Regions from separate parts of the Homo sapiens genome. Here regions 2, 3, 4, 5, 6 and 7 are each linked to region 1. Evidence: promoter capture Hi-C in 16 types of primary human blood cells and fetal thymus (Javierre and others, 2016). All regions are on one chromosome and are shown on one strand. The core of a region is centred on a gene start or on the middle of the fragment in contact, and the rest is flanking DNA. Distances in the headings are between cores, read along the strand shown.

Evidence for each region. Contacts are between HindIII fragments. The CHiCAGO score rates a contact against its expected background, and 5 or more counts as called.
Region 2: a fragment that was not itself captured here is called in contact with the fragment with the promoter of KRT20 in region 1 in 1 of 17 cell types (M1 macrophages); the score reaches 6.1 in M1 macrophages.
Region 3: a fragment that was not itself captured here is called in contact with the fragment with the promoter of KRT20 in region 1 in 4 of 17 cell types (M2 macrophages, neutrophils, endothelial precursors and 1 more); the score reaches 5.7 in M2 macrophages.
Region 4: a contact is called between a fragment that was not itself captured here and the fragment with the promoter of KRT20 in region 1, in 10 of 17 cell types (M0 macrophages, M1 macrophages, M2 macrophages and 7 more). The highest score is 18.1, in M0 macrophages.
Region 5: a fragment that was not itself captured here is called in contact with the fragment with the promoter of KRT20 in region 1 in 5 of 17 cell types (endothelial precursors, M2 macrophages, M1 macrophages and 2 more); the score reaches 8.3 in endothelial precursors.
Region 6: a contact is called between the fragment with the promoter of KRTAP9-6 here and the fragment with the promoter of KRT20 in region 1, in 3 of 17 cell types (endothelial precursors, M2 macrophages and erythroblasts). The highest score is 6.8, in endothelial precursors.
Region 7: a contact is called between a fragment that was not itself captured here and the fragment with the promoter of KRT20 in region 1, in 1 of 17 cell types (M1 macrophages). The highest score is 5.2, in M1 macrophages.

What each region holds. Positions count from the first base shown.
Region 1 is chr17:40,883,640-40,886,661 of GRCh38, reverse strand. KRT20 (keratin 20) reads left to right here and starts at 1,420. Exons shown (of 8, transcript NM_019010.3): 1 at 1,420-1,866. The coding sequence starts at 1,477. All of the region lies in intron 1 of LOC105371777 (a long non-coding RNA gene), which reads right to left. The HindIII fragment of the contact is 977 bases long and covers 522-1,498 here.
Region 2 is chr17:41,386,936-41,389,957 of GRCh38, reverse strand. No RefSeq gene overlaps it. Among named protein-coding and RNA genes, the nearest start is that of KRT34, 6.1 kb to the right of the region's middle. The HindIII fragment of the contact is 3,678 bases long and covers 1-3,022 here.
Region 3 is chr17:41,345,284-41,348,305 of GRCh38, reverse strand. It overlaps KRT33A (keratin 33A), which reads left to right. Exons shown (of 7, transcript NM_004138.4): 4 at 1,084-1,245; 5 at 1,337-1,462; 6 at 1,638-1,858; 7 at 2,070-2,214. The coding sequence ends at 2,187. Among named protein-coding and RNA genes, the nearest start is that of KRT33A, 4.0 kb to the left of the region's middle. RefSeq lists enhancers at 845-1,345, 1,346-1,846. The HindIII fragment of the contact is 959 bases long and covers 996-1,954 here.
Region 4 is chr17:41,328,911-41,331,932 of GRCh38, reverse strand. It overlaps the pseudogene TBC1D3P7. Among named protein-coding and RNA genes, the nearest start is that of KRTAP17-1, 15 kb to the right of the region's middle. RefSeq lists an enhancer at 1,823-2,392. The HindIII fragment of the contact is 1,543 bases long and covers 697-2,239 here.
Region 5 is chr17:41,286,545-41,289,566 of GRCh38, reverse strand. No RefSeq gene overlaps it. Among named protein-coding and RNA genes, the nearest start is that of KRTAP9-7, 12 kb to the right of the region's middle. The HindIII fragment of the contact is 390 bases long and covers 1,197-1,586 here.
Region 6 is chr17:41,263,782-41,266,803 of GRCh38, reverse strand. KRTAP9-6 (keratin associated protein 9-6) reads right to left here and starts at 1,426. Exons shown (of 1, transcript NM_001277331.1): 1 at 944-1,426. The coding sequence starts at 1,426. The coding sequence ends at 944. The HindIII fragment of the contact is 5,841 bases long and covers 1-3,022 here.
Region 7 is chr17:41,195,830-41,198,851 of GRCh38, reverse strand. No RefSeq gene overlaps it. Among named protein-coding and RNA genes, the nearest start is that of KRTAP9-1, 7.5 kb to the right of the region's middle. The HindIII fragment of the contact is 1,378 bases long and covers 805-2,182 here.

The DNA.
Region 1 (3,022 bases), core at 171-2,670:
AGTGACTGGCTTTCAGAACAACAGCAACAACAAATAAGCCACTAAAATAAGACAATTAAATTCCAATTTTTTTTGCATTTACTTGCTTGCTTAATTATATACAAATCTCAATTCCATTAAAGTATCAGGATGACAATTAATTAGATGTTTTTAGTGACTTTTCCAATCCCTTCTAATTAACTTGGAAGTGATTAACTGATTATCTAATTATATTAATTAGTGATTATCTAATTAACTAAGGAAGTGATTTACATGCTTCATGGGAAGTGTGAATTCTCAGCCAGGGGGTTTGAATGAAGGGAAGCAAGTGACTCAGGCATTTATTGGTTGCTTACAATCAGATTCCCACCGATGAGATCATGCCCATGTGTCTAGAGGTCCACACACAAGCAGCTGCCTCCAGCCCAACCCTGGAAGCTGAGTGTAGTCCCAAGTCCCCGCCTGCACCCCTTCCTATATAAACAGCCACTCTCGCTGTGATTATGGGGGCATACAAGGAAGATCAGGCTTCCATGGAAGCTTCTGCAACTGAAATCCACTGGGGACTTTAGAAGGAGCACCTGTAAGTAGCTTCAGGATGGATGGGGCAGAGTCTGTCTCATGGTGGGTGTTAAGCTGGCCTCATACAAAAGAGGAGACCCATCCTGATACCATGCCAGGTACAAAGCACTGTGTGATTTATTCTAAGTGTCTTGGTAACAGGACTTGAAGCCAGGTGGTGACTGGAAACCTAAAATGCAATATTTAGTCATAGAACATTAGAAATAGAAAGAAAATAACCTCCCAAATCATCTAATCCATCACTCAGCTAAATTCATTTAATTCACATCCCCAAACTACATCTCCAAATGTACAATGGTTTCATTCCTGGTTTAGGGATTCGAGGTTTTGTGTTTGTACAAAATATTTTAATAGTCTTATAAAATAAGATGTCCAAAACACAATAAACTTAAAAGCCAAACACAAGCAAAGCATGAAACAGAGGTTCTGAAGAGCAACTCCTCAATACAAATCAAACATTGTCCTTTATCTCCATTGTGACTTTCAGTTATGTAGGCACATCTGCCTTTTTAGATACCTAAATTATACATGAGGATTGTAAATATTCTTTGTGTGTATGTTAGGATGAAAAAAACCTGCCAAGGCAGGCGCATGGGCTAAAAGAATACACTTTCCTGTTTCCTTTTATTACCTGTTTAATTAAAAAAAAAAAAAAGTTGCCCCTGATAAAAGCCTCCAAGAAATGCCTCTAGTGGTATTTTCTGGAATTGAATTAAGCATATTAACATATTGCTATACAAAGCGGGGGGCGTGGAAGTAAGGCAAGGTGGACTGTGGTGCCAATCCTAGTGACATGTCAGCAGAGGAGGAGTTTCTTGCCTGTGGACTTCATAAAAGGCTAGCTCAACACCCTCCATGAGACACACTCTGCCCCAACCATCCTGAAGCTACAGGTGCTCCCTCCTGGAATCTCCAATGGATTTCAGTCGCAGAAGCTTCCACAGAAGCCTGAGCTCCTCCTTGCAGGCCCCTGTAGTCAGTACAGTGGGCATGCAGCGCCTCGGGACGACACCCAGCGTTTATGGGGGTGCTGGAGGCCGGGGCATCCGCATCTCCAACTCCAGACACACGGTGAACTATGGGAGCGATCTCACAGGCGGCGGGGACCTGTTTGTTGGCAATGAGAAAATGGCCATGCAGAACCTAAATGACCGTCTAGCGAGCTACCTAGAAAAGGTGCGGACCCTGGAGCAGTCCAACTCCAAACTTGAAGTGCAAATCAAGCAGTGGTACGAAACCAACGCCCCGAGGGCTGGTCGCGACTACAGTGCATATTACAGACAAATTGAAGAGCTGCGAAGTCAGGTGAGAGATGATGCTTGTGTTTCCTACTCTGTGTTTAGCTTCAAGATAAATCAAGAGGTTATCTATGTTAGGTAGGTCCAAATGGACTTTGTAAAGCAAATTAGGCTAAAATGTTACATCTATAAAAATTCTTTCATCTACCTTTAGTGCTGGAGTACCTGACTGTACAACAGGATGACCTTAAATCATGCTATTTTTAATGTTTAACACAATTACATACAAAATATGAACATTTTATCCTCCGGAATAAAATGAATCTTTGTCACAGCTTATCACATCAGGGCTAAATGTATAGTGAACAATCTTTCTGAAAAGAGCTAAAAATTAATTACGTGATAAATCTCTCTTAGTTTTTCACCTAGTCCTTATCAAGTTTTGAAACCCCAGTAAATTCAAAGACTTTTCTCCTTTTATTTAAGTAAATGTTATAATATGACTATTAGAATACTGTACTGCAGATTTAAATAGCAAAGTGATTCTGGGTGGAAACAGTGTGGCAGGAATATGGGTCTTAATGATGCCTGGATTTTTAAGTGCCCTGTTTAATAACATGACCATCAGCATCAAGCAGTTCAGAAACTACTTCTACAGTAATAAAATGTTCTATTGCCCCCAATTCATGTTTATTACAATCATATCACAACCTCCTCCTATGTCATCAAAAAAAGGGTGGAGCTCTGTATTTTATCAGTTTCATGGAATAAAAGCAGAAGACTTTGCTCCTAATTGAAAATTTCAGATATGACACAGAGCACTTGCTTCAAATTAAAGTTCTTATCTAATTAAGAAAAGTGTTCACTGTAATTTGTGTTAAGATTCATACTCCTTTAGAGCAAAGCGCATTTACTTACCAGCAAGTCTGTTTTTCTTGAGTTGTACTAAACATCAGGGCAATTTGATTCGGACTCCATGGGAAGTTACTTTGGAATTTTAGAAACTATGGGCATGTGAAGCAATGGCATTTAAATAGCCCTTCCGGAATAAAGTTCATCCTTCGCAAGCTCTCACTAAAAATGTTCGAACCACACCTGTCTCGTGTTTCTGACTCTAGTTTGGTTCATCTGAAATACACAGGCACAGGCCATCCGTCCCATTGAGCTGGACAGTCCCAACCATAGGAAGCAGCCCTCTCCAAAACTGGGTCCATTGAAAGAGA
Region 2 (3,022 bases), core at 166-2,665, 500 kb before region 1:
ATTTTCTCCCAGCTGTTATGTTTTGTCACAGCCTGGCCTAGGTCAGTGTCTCATCTCTCTAACTCACAATAAATATGATGGGTCAGGCCGACTGAAGCCTGCTTACTTGTGTCATTTTGAATGAGTTAAATTTACTCCCAACATTTCAGATTCTTCATCTCTGCTACATGGTGACAAAAATGGAACCTGAACACTCAGGTTCTGGGGTGAGGATGAAATACTATATGCAAAGGTACCTAGTAGACTATCTGACTAGAAAGTGATTGATTGATATTCATTTCCTTACTACCTTACTGTCTGGGCACTAGTTTTCTCCTCCATAAATTCAGGTCCTTCTAGCTTTAGAGTTCTTTGATTGTAGGAAACTGAATTTACTTCTGAGATGAACTTTTACAGGATTAAAACTCATGGTTAGAAGGGTAGTCTTTCTTCTAAGTTCTAAATCACTTAGGTCATGTGATTATGCATTTTAATTTGCTTAGATATTCAGAAAAGACAATCTAGTTTCCAGTTTGGATCAATTATGCAAAAGGACGATTATTTCCCTGTGGAGAAAAATAAATGAGTAAGACTTGGCCTTAGTTCAGGAAGGTACCATAGAGATTAGCTGGGTGCTCAAAGGCTTGGGCAGAGAGGCCTTTGGAGGAATGATGGAGTATGAAGGGGTGGGGAACAGGGCCCTAGAGGGGACCAGAAGGAAAAACTACGAAGTAAGGGGCAATGGGAAGCAATGAATATTTCCCTCACAAACCAGAGAAACCTCTGTGCCAAATATAAAGGTTTTGTACTGTGTTTAGGTGTTCATGATCAGGAGTCATAAACCTGAATTGTTCAAATCCCTGCTCCACCATTTATTGCCTGTATCTAGGGCAAATGTGGAGCCTTTCCCAGTTTATTTCTTTATCTGTAACATGGGAATAATAGGCCAACTTTATACAGTTGTTGGGAGAATCAAATGAGAAATGTGCCAAAGTGCTTAGTGCCTTGTTTGGCATCTAATAAGCCTTGATGAAATGGCAGAATCATCATCAACAACAACACTGCCATTATTATCATTATTACAAATGCTTGCACAGAGCTATAAGGCTAGAAGATTCCAAGAGGATAACAAAAGCACATTTCAATCCCAGTACCAGAAAAGAGGCTTTGGTGATATTACAATTTCATGTGGAGAACTTGTCCTCCTCCAGAACTACCCCAAATAAGATAACCAAACCCACAAGATCAGGAACTTAGCAGAGAAGATAGAGGTAATGGTTATCTGCAACTTCCTATTTCAACCACTAAGTTAATGTTAACATTTGCATTTTGATGGTTAATTTATGAATAGAGTTCTGTGCCCCTAGTACTTACAAGGTAAGTGGGTGAAGTTTGAGCACCACTGGGTTGGGATGGGCAATGGGCAATTTGTCTGCTTAACGAAGTAGAATTTTCACAAAATTCTTCATCTGAGCCACCTGGGTCAACAATAGGAACAATGAAGTTTATGGAAATAAACATCATCACTCCCTCCCCCAAACATGTTCACACACAATACCTTACCTTTTGCAAAAAAAAACAAAAACAAAAACAAACAAACAAAAAAACAAAACTATGAGGTAGGCAGCATTATTATTATTTCAATTCAAGAGATGAGATAAACAAGACTCAAAAAAGGGAATGAACTTCTCTGAGCTCATATCATAGGTAAGGATGTAAATCCAGGTCATTTAATTTCAAATTCGTGTTTTTTGGAGAGTGACATCAGCAAGATGAGGGAATAAGCAGCCCTGGACCCTCCTCACCGTCATGGGCACACTAATTCAATAATAATACTCAGATAAATTTTATTTGTGAGAAATCTAGTAACAATTTGAGAGGCTCTTGCACCCTGGATGAGTGTAAAACCAGCCAAATCAAAGTTGGTAGAAAGATTTTAAGATACTCTATCACAATAATCCCTGCTTTCTCAGCATAGTATCATATGGTTAGGAGGAAATCCCCCTCCCAGCTTCTTTGCAGGGAGAGGAGGAAATAACTGGACCATACATTCAACATTCAGATTTTTCTGAGAGCTGCCAATGCACTAGCTTCTGTCTTGCCTGTCTTAGAATGCGGATGGAATCCAGCATACTCCAGACGTCTAGGAGCCATTGAGAACAAAGAGGGTAATTTTAACTAGCATATGAATATTCACCACAGCCCTCTCCCCCGGCCAAGTTCAGAGCGAGCCAGTGAAAAACCCTGGGTCCCAGGCTCTCCCTGGAGAGAGAAAGAGTTAGACCTGTGTCCAATATTCTGTCTTTTCTGTGGACAGTATCAGGGATGGGCTTCTGTCTCACCTGTGCCAGAGTGCTATGGAAACTAGCCATACTCAAGATGCCTGGAGGCTGCAAAGATGGTGGTTTGGACTAGCACAAAAATTTGAGAGGTCCCCAGTATCTCTGGCTGGGCTGATTGGTGAAGGTCTTCTCCAGTACAAGGCCAGTCCGTGAAGATTGGGAGAGGTGGCTGTTTTGTCTAATGCACAGACACCAGCACAAAGATCCAAGGATAATGAAGAAACAGGGAAATATGTCCTAAACAAAGGTACAAGATAAATCTCCTGAAGTTGACCCCAATGAAAGAGATATACAATTTACCCGAAAGAGAATTTGAAATAACCATATATTCAAAATAGAGAATTCAAAATAACCATATAATCACAGGCTGGGCATAATGGCTCATGCTTGTAATCCCAGCACTTTGGGAGGCCGAGGTGGGTAGATCACTTGAGGTCAGGAGTTTGAGACCAGCCTGGCCAACAGGGCAAAACCCCATCTCTACTAAAAATATAAAAATTGGCTGGGCACAGTGGTGCGCAACTGTAATCCCAGCTACTCAGGAGGCTGAGGCATGAGAAATGCTTGAACCCAGGAGGTGGAGGTTGCAGTGAGCCGAAATCATGCCACTGCACTCCATCCTGGGCAACACAGCGAGACTCTGTCTCAACAAAACAAAACAAAAACAAAATAACCATAATTAAAGATGCTCTGCAAGGCCA
Region 3 (3,022 bases), core at 226-2,725, 460 kb before region 1:
TCTGCCAGAGGCAGGAATGAGAGTGAGGAAGTTGGCAAGCCCAGTAGTGAGGAAAGCTGGGTAATGAGGCAGAAGCCACAGCCTCTCCTGTGCCCAGGTTAGAGTGCATGCAGCAGCAATCTTCTATTCCAATTCTCCATTTGTAGCTGGAGAAGCCAGGATGGCCTAGGCCCATCAGGCAGAGAGGGCTGAGCTAGAACAAAATGCAATTCTCTTCGTTCCTGTCCAGAGCTCTTTCTGCTTGCTGTTCAGTGTTGCTTGGAAACAGCCTTGAGCAAAATGCTCACCATTATGGCTAAGTCAGTTGGGCAAAAAAGAAGACGTGTATTTTATGCAACCTGAAATCCAAGAACAATGTAAATGGTGACAGTTAATATTAATCAAGTGCTTAGTATGTGCCAAACATTGTGCTAAGTGCTTTAACTCCGGAGGCAGTTCTCATGTTAAGATGAAGAAATCGAGGCTTCAAGAAGCTTCTAGAAGCAATGTATTAAGTGGTAGAGATGAGGTTGAATACAAATTTGTCTGAAATCCGCCTAAGCCCAAGTACCAAGCTATGCTTAGCAGGGAAGTAAACAGATACTTATTGCCTTCAGCAAAATCTATGCTGGTGGAATCAACAAATCACCCTTTAAGTCTCTTCTATGCCAGGATGGCAGATTTTGAAGTAAGCATTCTGTATTTCCTCTTTAGCTAGACTCTGTTCTTTTTATTATCCATGCTTAAGAGTCAAACATGTGAGGCTATATGGTATACTAGCAAAAACACTGAACTGGGCATTTGGGGACCAGAGTTTAAATAATGGCCCACCATGTATCAGCTTTGAGCCCAAATCACTGAATCTCTCTAAATGAGGAGTGATACATTTAATACAAAGAGCAGAGGGAAGTCATGGGCTTGAAAGTAGTTTGTAAAAAGTGGAGTATACAAATTAGTCATTGAATATAGATCCTGGTTAGTGACAGGATCAGAGGGAACAAAGTTTCTTGAAAGCTTAAGAATGATCAGAAGTTGAATTGCATTCTCTTAAGGAGAGCACCAAGATCCTTTGTGAAATTTAAAATTTTGCCCTTTCTCCATCAGGAGGTTAACACCCTGCGCTGCCAGCTTGGAGACCGCCTCAACGTGGAGGTGGACGCTGCTCCCACTGTGGACCTGAACCAGGTCCTGAATGAGACCAGGAGTCAGTATGAGGCCCTGGTGGAAACCAACCGCAGGGAAGTGGAGCAATGGTTCGCCACGCAGGTGGGCATCTAAGCACGTGGCCACTCAGGACCCGAGGCCCCCCAGGGCCCCGGAGGCAGGGTCTGATCCTTTCTCCCCTTGGGTGTTTCAGACCGAGGAGCTGAACAAGCAGGTGGTATCCAGCTCGGAGCAGCTGCAGTCCTACCAGGCGGAGATCATCGAGCTGAGACGCACGGTCAATGCCCTGGAGATCGAGCTGCAGGCCCAGCACAACCTGGTGTGTATTGTTCAGACCTGCTGGTGAGCGATGGGAACTTGGGAGGCAGAGTCTTGGGGATGCCCTTGGGGCCACACACTCTCCTTAGCTCTTGGAGCTTGTGAGTTCTTTGGAACCCCATGGAGGAACCTTATAAGGAGCAGCTCTCTGACACTCTCAATCTTCCCCACCACAGCGAGACTCTCTGGAAAACACGCTGACAGAGAGCGAGGCCCGCTACAGCTCCCAGCTGTCCCAGGTGCAGAGACTGATCACCAACGTGGAGTCCCAGCTGGCGGAGATCCGCAGTGACCTGGAGCGGCAGAACCAGGAGTATCAGGTGCTGCTGGACGTGCGGGCGCGGCTGGAGTGTGAGATCAACACGTACCGGAGCCTGCTGGAGAGCGAGGACTGCAAGTCAGTATGGGGGTAGTAATCTTCTCCTTGGGGCATGTTAGGTTGCTGTGGAGATGAATAGTCTTCTTGATGGAAATGAATTTATAATTTCAAGCTTTTGTTTGGAGGAAGTCCAAGGAGGAACAATATTCTTACACAAAGCCCTTTTAGTATTTTCCAATCTCTTCAGCTCATTTTACTCTAACTTGCTCCAATGATTTTCTGCCCACAGGCTCCCCTCCAACCCCTGCGCCACAACCAATGCATGTGACAAGTCCACTGGGCCCTGTATCTCTAATCCCTGTGGCCTACGTGCTCGGTGTGGGCCTTGCAACACATTTGGGTACTAGAGGCCCCACAACCAGGAGGAGAAGAAAGGCATCAGTCACACCTCAACTCTACTTCATCCCAACATCTCCAACAGTGACCACACTTTGGAAAGAGGCAGAAACCTTTCTATCAACCCTGGCTTCCAGGGGTCAGCTCTAGCCTTCCACTGTATTCCCTGGCTTGATTCTTCAGCATAAGGCTGCAAAATCTGTCTTCTGAGTCACATAGAGAGACCTACAGCAGGATCAAGATCAAGCAATATCTATCACCATAAAGACACATTTGCATAACATGTTATACTTGAATAAAACTTAAATAATACAATTTAGAGAAAATTCCATTAAATGTGATAGAGCTGATGGGCATGCTATGAAACAGAACATAATTGGAGCAAATCTTCCTTGTCACTCTTGGTCTTTGGAGATGCAATAGAAATCCTTTGTTAACCTCCTAATAAACTGTTATTCAAAAGTTATAATTGTCTGTTTCACTCATTAATTCCAAAATTGGCTGTCTTGTATAAATTAAAAAAATAACCAGAGTTTTTCCATCAGATGAAGAGGTTATTCACCCCATATATGGCCTATGATTTCCTTCAATGGAAAAGCCTCCATGAAAGACTATTAACCCGGATTTAGTGTTTGGGAAGAAGGTGGTGGGAAACAGAATGGCAAATTCATATGAAGGTGTCTTTAGAGACACAGGAACTATTTATTCTGAAACATTAAGTGGAGGGATCCGAAAACCTTTTGAGTAAAAAAAAAACCTGTACTGAGGTAATATAAATCTATCACCTTAACATATGGTATATAATCTCATATACACATATACATAACCACATACCATATAAGCATA
Region 4 (3,022 bases), core at 219-2,718, 450 kb before region 1:
GAGACAGACGACGGTGACATGCAAGGAGCTAAGATGTCAGGACACTGAGCTGTGAACGAGGCAAGCAGGGGCTGAGGGATGGAGGAGACAGGGTGGTGGCAGGTGGGGGTGGCCGGGATGGCTGGAGCCTGGGACCAAGGTAGGTTCCTGCACTGCTCTGCGTGGGGACCTAGCTGGGCTCTGAGTCATGAGGGCAGACAGTGGCCAGGGTGAGGCTGGCACTGTGCATCCCCTTCCCCACTGCTGAAGATGCCGCCTAGGGTGGGCTCACAGTCTTTGGGGAGTTAAGAACCATCCTGATCCTAGAGAAGGTTATTTCTGGAAGCAAAAATCCAGGGTTTATGCTCCTGGGACAGGGGATCCCTGGAGCCTCTCATCCTCCCCATAGCCTTTGCATTGGGCAGTGAAGGCGTTTTCCTGTTGAGTCTGAGGAAGGGAGAAGTGGTGTCACTTGGGGTGTCAGCTTTCATCTCACTTAGTCCTCACGGGGGCCTGCAAAGTAAGGGTCACCATCGGCCCAATTTACAGATGAGGACACTGAGGTTCAGAGAAGTTACATGATTTGCCCAAAGTGACACAGCTACTAAGTGGCTGAATGGGATTGAATCCAGGTCTTTCTGAGACAGCCCAAGCTGTTGATGGAGCCCTCTGGCTCACGGATGAGCAGGTAAAGTGAAACAAACACTTTAGAAAGCTTACCTGAGGGTGAGGGGGCAGGCAATTGAGCCTTCTGTGGGGTCCGAAATGTTTACAGTTGTCTCTCTGCGTACGTCGGGAATCAGTTTCACCACCTCCCACAAATACCAAAATCCACAGATGCTCCAGTCTTGATATAAAATGGTACAGTATTTGCATATAACCTAAGCACATCTTCCCATATGCTTTAAATCATCTCTAGATTACTTACCTATGCAATCATGTGTCAGATAGCAACATTTCAGTCCGTGCCAGAATGCATATAGAATGGTGGTCCCATAAGGTTATAATGGAGCTGCCCTATACAGGTGTACCATCTCTAAAAATTGATATCTAAAAAGAGATGGGGTCTTTTTATGTTGCCCAGACTAGTCTAGAACTTCTGGGCTCAAGTGATCCTCCCGGCATGGTCTCTCAAAGTGCTGGGATTATAGGCATGAACCACTACATCTGGCCAGGTGTACCAATTTTTTTTTTTTTTTATCATTTATACTGTATTTTTATCATTCTTTTCTGTGTTTAGATACACAAATAGCCATCATTGTGTTACCACTACCTATGGTACTCAGTATGGTAACATGCTGCAGAGGTTTGGAGCCCAGGAGCAATCAGCTCTACCATTCAGCCAAGGTGTGTGTTTGGTTGCAACCTCTGAAGGAAGCTAAGGAGGAATGACCTAAAGACAGAAGGTGAGTCCGAGGTGGGATCCTGGGACAGGTACCAGAAGTTAAGCAAAAACAGGTGAAATCTGAATGAATTTCACCATATTAATATAGTGACAGCATTAATAACCTTAAATAATAGTTAACATTATTATTCAGTTAACAGGATTGCACCCATGTTAAATTCCTTAATTTTTTTTTTAAGAGAGAAAGTCTCATTCTGTCGCCCAGGCTGGAATGCAGTGGTGCGATCATAGCTCACTGCTTCCTGGATCTCTTGGGCTCAAGCGATCCTCCTGCTTCAGCCTCCTGATTAGGTGGGACTATAGGCACACGCCACCATGCCTGGCTCCTTATTTTTTTTTTTTTTTTTTTTTAACTTTTCTCCAGGGATAGGGTCTACCTATGTTGCCCAGGCTGGTCTCAAACTCCAGGACTCAAATGAACCTTAACCTCCTGCCTTGGCCTCTCAAACTGCTGGGATTACAGGTGTGAGCCACCACACCTGGCCTAAATTTCTTAATTTGGACAAATGTGCCATGGTAATGCAAAATGTCATTATTAGGGGCAGCTGGACGGAAGGTGTCGGAGTACACTATAATGCCTTTTCAGTTTTTCTATATATCTAAAATCATTTCAAAAGTAAACATTTATTTTAAAACATGGACGTGGTTATCCTTCCATGAGTGTAAAGTACAAAAGGCAGGCTCATGGTGTTGTCAGAAGTCAGAACACTGGTTGCAGGGCTGGGGGCGCAGAGGCTGGGTTGGCTTTGTGATCTGGGGGCTGATGTGTTCCATCTGTTAATGTCTTTAGAGCTGTGCACTTTCTTCATAAATTTTCATAAGTTTAACAAAAAAGTAAAACGAGGATGGGAAGCTTGTTTGGGTTGTGGGGCCTCGGGAGTGTACTGCTGCTTGTCCCTAGCTGTGAATGGGGTGCCCTGGTCGGAAGCAGTGCTGTGTGCACTGCAGGGCCGGCAAGTGCATGTCCACGTTGTGGCTCAGTGCAGTGAAAGCCAATCTCAGCCCCTTCCGCAGTGTGGTCAGCCTGCCAGTAGGTGGCCAGCTGGTCCTTCTGGGAAATGGTGCCATCCCAGGGGTTGGGTGTGAATCTGTTTTCCACAGACAAGGCGCTCAGCAGTGGTGTCAGCCTGGTGAGCCTTGGTAAGGGCATGTGCAGGATGCTGAGCCTCTCCCGTCCCCATGCCCGTCTCATGGCCACTTGCTCTGCGGGCCCATCCAGCAAGCATGGTGGCTGGGAAAGAAGCCGGCTCCATCCACAGGGCATGCTGTTTTGCCCACCTCAGGACCAAGAGTATTCTCTGTAGTAATTCTCTTTGGTGGGAGCACTGGGAACATGAACAACAGATACCTTCAGAGTCTGAGCTGCTGAGGTGAGGGCTGCAGGGTGCCCTGCTGTCAGGAGAGCCTGCACTGGCAGCTGGAAGGCACGTGGTGGTGGCACCTGCTGTGGCTGCAGCAGTGGCTGCAAGGCTTCGAGATCTCTCCCCGGTTCTGTAAGGTGAATTGTGACAATGCAGAGCTCTGCAGTGCCAGGGTCCCCTGCATGGTCATGCTGACTGCAGCTGGGAGCCCACCACAGCCCTGGTACCCCTCTCTTCCCAGGGCTGGGGTCTAGGCCAGGCCACTCTTGGCCTGGGT
Region 5 (3,022 bases), core at 142-2,641, 400 kb before region 1:
TAATGGGCTTTGATAAAGGATGTTAAGGGGCAAAGTTAAGGCAGCCTTGTAAAGGTCAACTTGGAAACTAAATATCAGTAGGGAGTTATCTCAGTGGCTATAAGTTAAGACAACAGAATAAAAACTGATATTTGAGACATAAAAATGGCCCAAAAGATGGGTGTAATGAGCCCATGAGTCCCCAGTATAACATGAAACTTGCCCATCTGCGTGGTGTACGGCATTTGGTGTTACTCATGTTGGTCTCATCAGTTTGCCCACCTAAATAAATTCATCTTACAACAATAGTTCTATAACATCTAGAAGTAAGTTCCCTCCTGTAGCCCACTTCATCAGAAACTTCTTGGCAACACCTGAACCTAGCTGGAACTGGAAAAATATTTGATGGTAGTGATTTCCTGATAAATAGTCTAGAGCTGTTGCAAACAAAATCCAAGGATTGCTCTTTTTAGACACAGTCTTGCTCTGTCGCACAGTCTAGAGTGCAGTGGCTTGATGTTGGCTCACTGCAACCTCCGCCTCCTGGGTTCAAGCGATTCTCCTGCCTCAGCCTGCCGAGTAGCTGAGATTGCAGGTGCGTGTCACCACACCCCACTAATTTTTTGCATTTTTAATAGAGACGGGGTTTCACCACATTTGTCAGGCTGGTTTTGAACTCCTGACCTCAAGTGATCCACCCACCTTGGCCTCCCAAAGTGCTAGGATTACAGGTGTGAGCCACTGTGCCTGGTTAAAGGGTTGCTGTTTAAATGAACTATTTGCTTATGCTCTAAGTCAGCATGGATGGGATCCATAGATCTTTCCCGAAGTCTTAAAAATTAGTCTCTTGACTTAGTGGCATGGGAATAGATGTGAAAGAACTTTGTTTTTTTAAAAATATTAATTAATTAATTAATTTTTGAGACAAAGTCTTGCTCTTTCACCCAGGCTGGAGTGCAGTGGCGCGATCTCAGCTCACTGCAAACTCTGCCTCCCAGGTTCAAGTGATTTTCGTGCCTAAGCCTCCCGAGTAGCTGGGAATACAGGTGCACACTGCCAAGCCTGGTTAATTTTGTATTTTTAGTAGAGACGGGTTTTGCCATGTTGGCCAGGCTGGTCTCGAACTCCTGACCTCAAATGATCCTCCTGCCTTGGCCTTTCAAAGTGCTGGGATTACAGGTGTGAGCCACTGTGCCAGGCCAAAATGGGAAAAAGCTTTGTAAAATATAAAATATCCTTTAAATTTAAGAGCTTATGAAGGATATACTGCACACATAATCTAGGTCACGAAAGGATATGCAAGATGAGTATAGATTACTAGGTGATAAATTGGGAAATGCCTTAGTTGCAAAGAAGATAATTCAAATTATAAATACAATGAAGAAATGTGCAGGAAAGATATTTTAGAGGTGGCAAAATTAACCAGTTATTAAGACAATCAGCAGAGGTGGTGGACAGGGATGGTGAATCTCATGCATGTCCAATTTCTAGTGATACTCATTAGTTAAATCCAAACCCTCACTAGTGGCCATGAAGTCCAATGTTTCTTTAAAAAGGCAGTAAGGACCAATGAAGATTTTTTTCCTTGTCCATAGTTTAGTCAAGCTTCTGAACCTTCTCATAGGCCCATGGGTGCACTTCCTTGTAAAATCCAGTTTTGTAAAATTTTAGCAAAGAGCCCTGCTAAATAGGTTTAGCAAGAACTCCCCATCCTCGATATCTGATCACCCTTAATAGCGGATCAGATCTCTTATCTGCCACCATTCTCCAAGTGATGTTTGATCACCCTCGCCTGTCTTCAGCAAGAGCACTTTTAGGTCAGTTTAGCCAAAATTTCCCTACTGGTGATGCTTCCTCTTAGTAATTTTCCATCCACTGACCGCCACCCTGCTCCTTGGCTGTAAATTCTCACTTGCCCATGCTATGTTAGGAGATGAGTCCAATCTCTGTCTCCCAATGCAAGACCCTGTTATGGTGGTTCCTTTGTTTACTGCAGTGTTCCTGAATAAAGTCTCCCTTACCAGGCTTTCACAAGTGCCATTGAATAATTTTTTTTTTAACAAGACTATGATGAATTTTTAAAAGCCAAATCCCTATTGTTTCCCTGATAACATATTATTTCACCAGAAAAATAAATATAAGAAATTCATTTTAAATGTATCTCAAACCATCAGAAAAGGGCTTAACCTTATTGAACTGAGCTACTAGGAAAGAGGAGGAAAGAAGAAGAGTGGAAACCATCGGTCATTCAGTGCAAGCATGTCCGGCTGTCACCAATAAGCTAGCTGTACCTGTCTTAGGACAGAGCTGTATGAAGGAAGTTAATATTTACCAGTTAAAAGAAAAACGAAAGAGGAAAACAGTGATTCAGCACTAAACAGAATTAAGAGTCAGTCATTTGAAATATAGAAAGCCCTAGAAATACCATTACAAACAACAATAATAACAATAAGCCCCCTATTGTATAATAACAAATTGTGCAATAGGTAAAAGATAGATTGTTTAAAGTCTTCTTGGATGTTGTAAGTTATTTTCAGGGCCAAAAAGGAAAAAACTGCTCTTGCAATTCAAGTTCGGGTATATATTTTGCAAATGCTGGCATGCTCAATGCTTCCTGAAGGAGAGGGAGCTATCCTTATTTTGATCAGTTCAGATTGAATGAAAATTTTCTCTGATGCTAATATAGATCCAGTCTCCCAAATTTTAGGTTCCCCACGATTCTTCAAACATCACCAATAAGAGTTCAATGTTCTTGGCTGGGTGTGGTGGCTCACACCTGTAATCCCAGCACTTTGGGAGGCCAGTGTGGGCCTCCCAAAGATCATGAGGTCAAGAGATCGAGACCATCCTGGCCAACATGGTGAAACATGGGCATGGTGGCGGGCACCTGTAATCCCAGCTACTCAGGAGGCTGAAGCAGGAGAATTGCTTGAACCTTGGAGGTGGAGGTTGCAGTGAGCCGAGATCGCACCACTGCACTCCAGCCTGGTGACAGAGCGAGACTTATCTCAAAAAAAAAAAAAAAAAAAAAAAAAAAAAAGAG
Region 6 (3,022 bases), core at 177-2,676, 380 kb before region 1:
TATTAGCTACATAAAATCACACACTAAATTGTTCTCAGCTGAAAAATTGAGGTAATAATACATAATAATAACTCTGTTTTCAGAATCAAATTGGATAATACATATAGCATGCAATATGTGTGTAAATCTCATATCAGCAATTCTGTAAAATAAAACACCATATGAGATGAAGGATGGTTCAGAATTTATTCAGAAATATATAGGTAAGAATCCCTGCTACTAGGGACATAGCCCAAAGTTACAATGAAAAGAAGAAAGAAGGGTAAAAGAAACATGAGGACAAAATTGAAAACAAAAATATGATTGCAAAGATTATTGATCAGTTGCAGAAACCTAAGTTTCTTAGAAGGAGAGAATGAAGCTCTTGACTTTAGAGTCGAATGGAGACCATGTCTCCACATTGAGAACACATGAAGCTGGCACATGATCCACAAAGTGTAAGGAAAAAAGAATCAGGATGAAGTATTCTGCCCTCCCTCAAGCTGATTCCCAAGATTTTAAACAGGCAAAGAAATAAAAAAAATTGGTGAAAGCATACTGTGTATCAGTAAAGTTTGAAAGTAAATCTGTCTTCTGAAAGATAAGTGAGTTGGGTCTGGGTGTGGTAGCTCACACCTGTAATCCCAGCACTTTGGGAGGCTGAGGCAGGTGGATCACCTGAGGGCAGGAGTTCCAGACAAGTCTGATCAACATGGTGAAAACTACTAAAAATACTAAAAATACAAAAAATTAGCCAGGCGTGGTGGCACAGGCATGTAATCCCAGCTACTCAGGAGGCTGAGGCAGGAGAATCACTTGAACCCAGAAGATGGAGGTTGCAGCGAGCCGAGAGCGTGCTACTGCACTCCAGCCTGGGTGACAGTGAGGCTCCGTCTCAAAAGAAAAAAAAGGTCAGTTGAGCAGAAGGTTGTTGTGTGAGGATGATGGTCCTCTGTGGTGCTGCTCAGCAACAAGAATGCTGGCAGCAGCTGGACACACAGCAGGCTGGGCAGTAGCAGGGCTGGCAGCAGCTGGATCCACAGCTCTGGTTGAGGCAACCAGGCAGGCAGACAGTCGTGGGGTGGTAGCAGGTTCTTCTGCAGTACACAGGTGCACAGGAGCTGCTCTGGCCACAGCTGGACCCACAGCTGGTTTGGCCACAGCAGCTGGACCCACAGCAGATGGGCTGGTAGCAGGGTGTGCTGCAGCAGGAAGGCTGGCAGCAGCTGGTCACACAGGTGGGCTGGCAGCAGGTGGTCCTGCAGCAGGTGTTTTGACAGCAAGTTGGGTGGCAGTAAGGCTGGCAGCAGCTGGACACACAGCAGGAGGGCTGGCAGCAGGGTGTGCTGCTGCAGGTGGTCACAATGGTGGGCTGCCAGCAGGTAGTCCTGCAGCAAGTGGTCCTGCAGCAGGTAGGCTGACAGCCAGGGGAGCAACAGTGGGTCATGTTGTCAGGGGTGGAGGGTGGGCTTCTGTTCAGAGGTGAGTTTCCCAGGATTTGATGACCCCTTGCAATCTGGACCTTTTATACATGTGGCCTCCAAAGTTTCCACCAATCAGCAGGATTTTTCTTTCTTGCTGTTTACAGTTGTTTTCCATAGTCAGTTTGGCATTGTCAAAGAGGAAGTCATTTCCTAAATGTTATGAATCTTTGGAAAGTAAGGGTTTAATCTGTTTCTTAATTGTAAATTACTCGTAGAAACTTTGTTTCAGATAAAAGGAAGGCAGTCTCATCATCAGCTTCGTTCCTGCTCTGACCAGCATCTCGTCATGTGATAGTTCCTGGTGACTGGGGAGGCTCAGGAAGTTCTCTCTGCCCAGTCTCATCCTTTGGCTGTATGTAGACTGGGAAGTGTCTGTGGGGAGAAGCATGATGTTGATATATTCACAGTGGTGAATTGAATCCATGCTTGGGACCAAGACTGTTCACCCACCAAAGTCTGATTCAAGACTGATAGGCATCTCTCTATGTACAACCTACTTTACCTGTCTCTTCCAGTTCTATAAAAGCCTCTTGGGAAGAGGGTGTTCAGCACAATGTGTGCTATGTGGCAGAGCAGAGCCAAAGCAAACACGTAGAAAGAGGAGGGGTTCACTGGAATTCACAAAGCATCAAGCAATCTACGTGCTGCGGTGACCATTCACCCTGATTTGTCTGGGACTGAGGGGCTTACCAGCATGAGAATGTGGGACTGGGAATTACTGTGACATTACTGCTTGAGGTCCAGGCAAAGCAATATGAGCTGTGGCTCTAGCCCTAATCCAGGTTACTGGCACAATCATTGCCATTTCTCTGTCTCTGTCTCTGTCTCTGTCTCTGTCTCTGTCTCTCTCTCTCTCTCTCTCTCTGTCTCTCTGTTTTCAGTGAGGGAATTAGGTGAGTTGAGATGATATCTGATTCCTCTTTGAGGTTTACCATTGTTTAAAACTTTTTAAATTATACCATTCATTTCAGAAGAGTGCAAATTATGAATTCCAACTTGATATAATATTACATTATAAATACATCTAAGTCCCCATTACCAGTTTACAAAATAGAAATTAATTCCATTCCCTCCAAATTATATCTTTTTACTTATCTCCAAAGGTAGCTAGTCACTCTATCAAGTTTTAATCCTGTAGGTCAGTTTTGTTTTTTTCTTTGACTTTTATGTAAATAAAAATTATAGAATTTGCTTCACTGTGTTTTTGGCATAATCAAAAGCAGCAATTATAACCTGGTCATTTCATTTTGGATCCTTCATGTTAGCAGACCAGCAGGTAGATAAAGGAGTTAATATTCCATGAGGGATAATTTTCGTGAAGCCATAGAGCGTAGGGAGAATATATCTGAAACTCAAGAAATTTACTATATATATTAAAGCATTACACTGCCATTAAAAACTATGGCAAATCAAGTGGCTGAAGTTTATTTTCTCACAGTTCTGAAGGCTAAAATAAAGGTGTTGGCAATGTTGTTTTCATCTGAGGGCTGTGAGGGAAATATCTGTTTCAGGTCTCTCTCCTTGACCTGTAGATGTCTATCTTCTCCATGTGTCTCTTA
Region 7 (3,022 bases), core at 244-2,743, 310 kb before region 1:
TTCTTTAGTGGTGATTTGTGAGATTCTGGTGCACCCATCACCCGAGTAGTGTATGCTGAACCCAATTTGTAGTCTTTTATCCATCACCCCTTCCATCTTTTCCCCTGAGTCCCCAAAGTCCATTGTATCATTCTTATGCCTTTGCATCCTCATAGCTAGCTCCCACTTACAAGATTTCAGGTTCGGTTTTCCATTCCTGAATTACTTCTCTTAGAATAATAGTCTCCAATTCCATCCAGATTGCTGTGTCATTAATTCATTCCTTTCTATGGCTGAGTAGTATTCCATCATATATACAACCATTTCTTTTTCCACTCATTGATTGATGGGCATTTGGGCTGGTTTCATATTTTTTGCAATTGCAAATTGTGCTGTTATAAACATGCACGTGCAAGTATCTTTTTCGTATAATGACTTCTTTTCCTCTGGGTAGATATCCAGTTTTGGGATTGCTGGATCAAATGGTAGTTCTACTTTTAGTTCTTTAAGGAATCTCCACACTATTTTCCACAGTGGTTGTACCAGTTTACATTCCCAGCATGAGCAGCTTTTTAAATTAAAAAAAAAAAAACTAACTTCTTGGTGAATCTGGATTCATAATATCTGTACTCCATTCTGAGGGGACTTCAGATGTTGGCATGATTTTACTCCAGTATGTGTTTTAAAAAGAAAAGGAAGGACACTCCCTAAATCCAATCCCTAGAAGTTCTATCAACATCCTCTCAAGCCTTTATATCATTTATTTATACTTATATCAAGTACTCTCAAGCTTTTATATTAATTAGACAGGTACAGTAGAAAGCTTTTAGGTTGGGTAGATTCTGATATCGATTTTCAGAAGATTCCAATATTCTTATCTAAGCTGAAAGAAGGTATTGAAACATCATACAAATACCGTGGGAATCTCTCAGAACAACTTACATAATACAGTGTTATCAGTCTTCAAAATTTCTATAATTTCATATAATATCAGTATTATCAGTCTTCAAAATTTCTATAATTTCATGAAGTTCTTAATATCTTAGAAACAAATCTACACTTGTTAACCTCAGTGGGAATCATTATACATGTTCCTCTGATTCTTTTTCCATTTTTCCACATTTTACACATGAGCAAACTCTGAACATAACAAACCTCACAATTCTCCAGTGAGTCAATCTGATGTTGATAGGACTTCCAATATTGGCAGTTCTGGGGGCTCTCTCACACTTCTTAAACTATCAATGTTATAGCTGGGATTGGAATTAGGGAGTGTCATTCCTTTTCTTTTTAAAACACATACTGGAGTAAAATCATGCCAACATCTGCCATCTAGGGGGAATTCTGAATGGAGGTTCTCCAGTGGAAAAATAGGGAAGTTTTGTTACATACATTGTACACTGGACAGAGCTAAAGAAAATGAAAAACCATTTCGTGAAAGCATTACTTGGTCTTGTCCATAATAATATTATATTTTAATAGAGGACTGAAGTGTGGAATTGTCTTTTATGTTTAATGGCAGTCATAGGAAAAATTGCAGTAGGATGTGCATAAACCATCAGAACTCACTGAGGGATCCCAGGGGAAGGAGTGTGATGGGGGAATCACACAAACAGGTGTATGATGTCATGTTACTGTCTAATGATAACAAAGAGCCCATGCCAGTTTCTGAAGACAGACCTGCATGGCTGCAGCTTATATTTTTATTTGGAAGAAAGAGAAAGTGGACAAAATCCGGAGTTGCCTAAAATATAATTTGTATGCTATGGCCTGAAACTTCATAAATGATCCATAAATATGATGGCAAAAGTAAACAAAATTAAAAATGTTTTGTAGGTCTTTATGAGGCAAAGGCATAAATGAGGTTGTATCAGAAGTTGGGGAACATGGGAGGGGCTGCTTCAAGACCTGCAGAAATTACTGTAAGTTGATTGAAGATGGTTTTAAAAAGAACCTGGGACTTATAAATGGGGGTGGAGGTTTGGTGAGCCATGGCAGCTTAGAGAAAAGAGAGAGTCTGAGACAAATTCAGAAGTGCTGGTTACGACACATTGCATGGGGGAGGGAGAGCCACCCAAGGCACTTGAATTTTCCAGAGTGCCTGGCAAAATCTGTTTTAGAACAAATGCATTAGATGCCATTCCGTATTATTAGAACTTCTAGAATATTAGAATGTTCTAAATATTTGCTGAGAAAATAAGCTTTTAGGGCAATACAAGGGATCCTTGTGCTGATGGAGCTACTCTGTGTCTTGAAGGTATCAATGTCACCATTGGACTTGTGATACCGTACTGTAGTTTTGCAAGAAGTTATCATTGGGGGGAAACTTGGTAAAGAGTACAGAGGTTTCTTTGTATTATTTCTTGCAACTGCATGTGAATCTACAATTATCTCAAAAAGTTTAATTATAAAAAAGAAAATAACCTTTGGTTATAATTTCACTTTTCATGCAGGTATATCTATAGGAAGAAAATATCCTGGTCAAAAAGACCCATGAAAATGTCATCTTCTCTTTAAGTTATTTCTCATGTAGATTCTTCAACTGGTACTAATGTTATGGGCTTGGTGAAAGTGAGCCTGCTCCCAGAGGTGGTTTCACTCTTAGAATGTAAATAATTTCAGTTTCTGGAGTGTGCAAGGCTGAAGGCCAGATACTGGTACGTTTTTCAAGGTAGTATTTACTACCCTGGAAGACAGCCTTCCTGTTTCCTCCAAAGGATGCCTAATAAGTATGTATGGCACTTTGTGTTTCTTTTTAAATTTTACATATTTTACATATTTTGTTGCTTATGGACTTCAAAAATCAGCGAATGGTCAATTTTGAATCCAACAAAAACATTTGGGAACTTTTGAAGTATCTCAAGAACTGAAGTGACCTCTGAAGTCCAATAATAATAACCAATTACCAGACACTGCGAATCCTTGGCACAATGTTCTAATGATTGTCCAGCCAACGCTTGCATCCCAATAGTGTTTAGAATTCACATTGCCAGAATAATTTTTGCATTAGCTCCTTCCACTCTAGGCCTCTGGCAATTTTTCC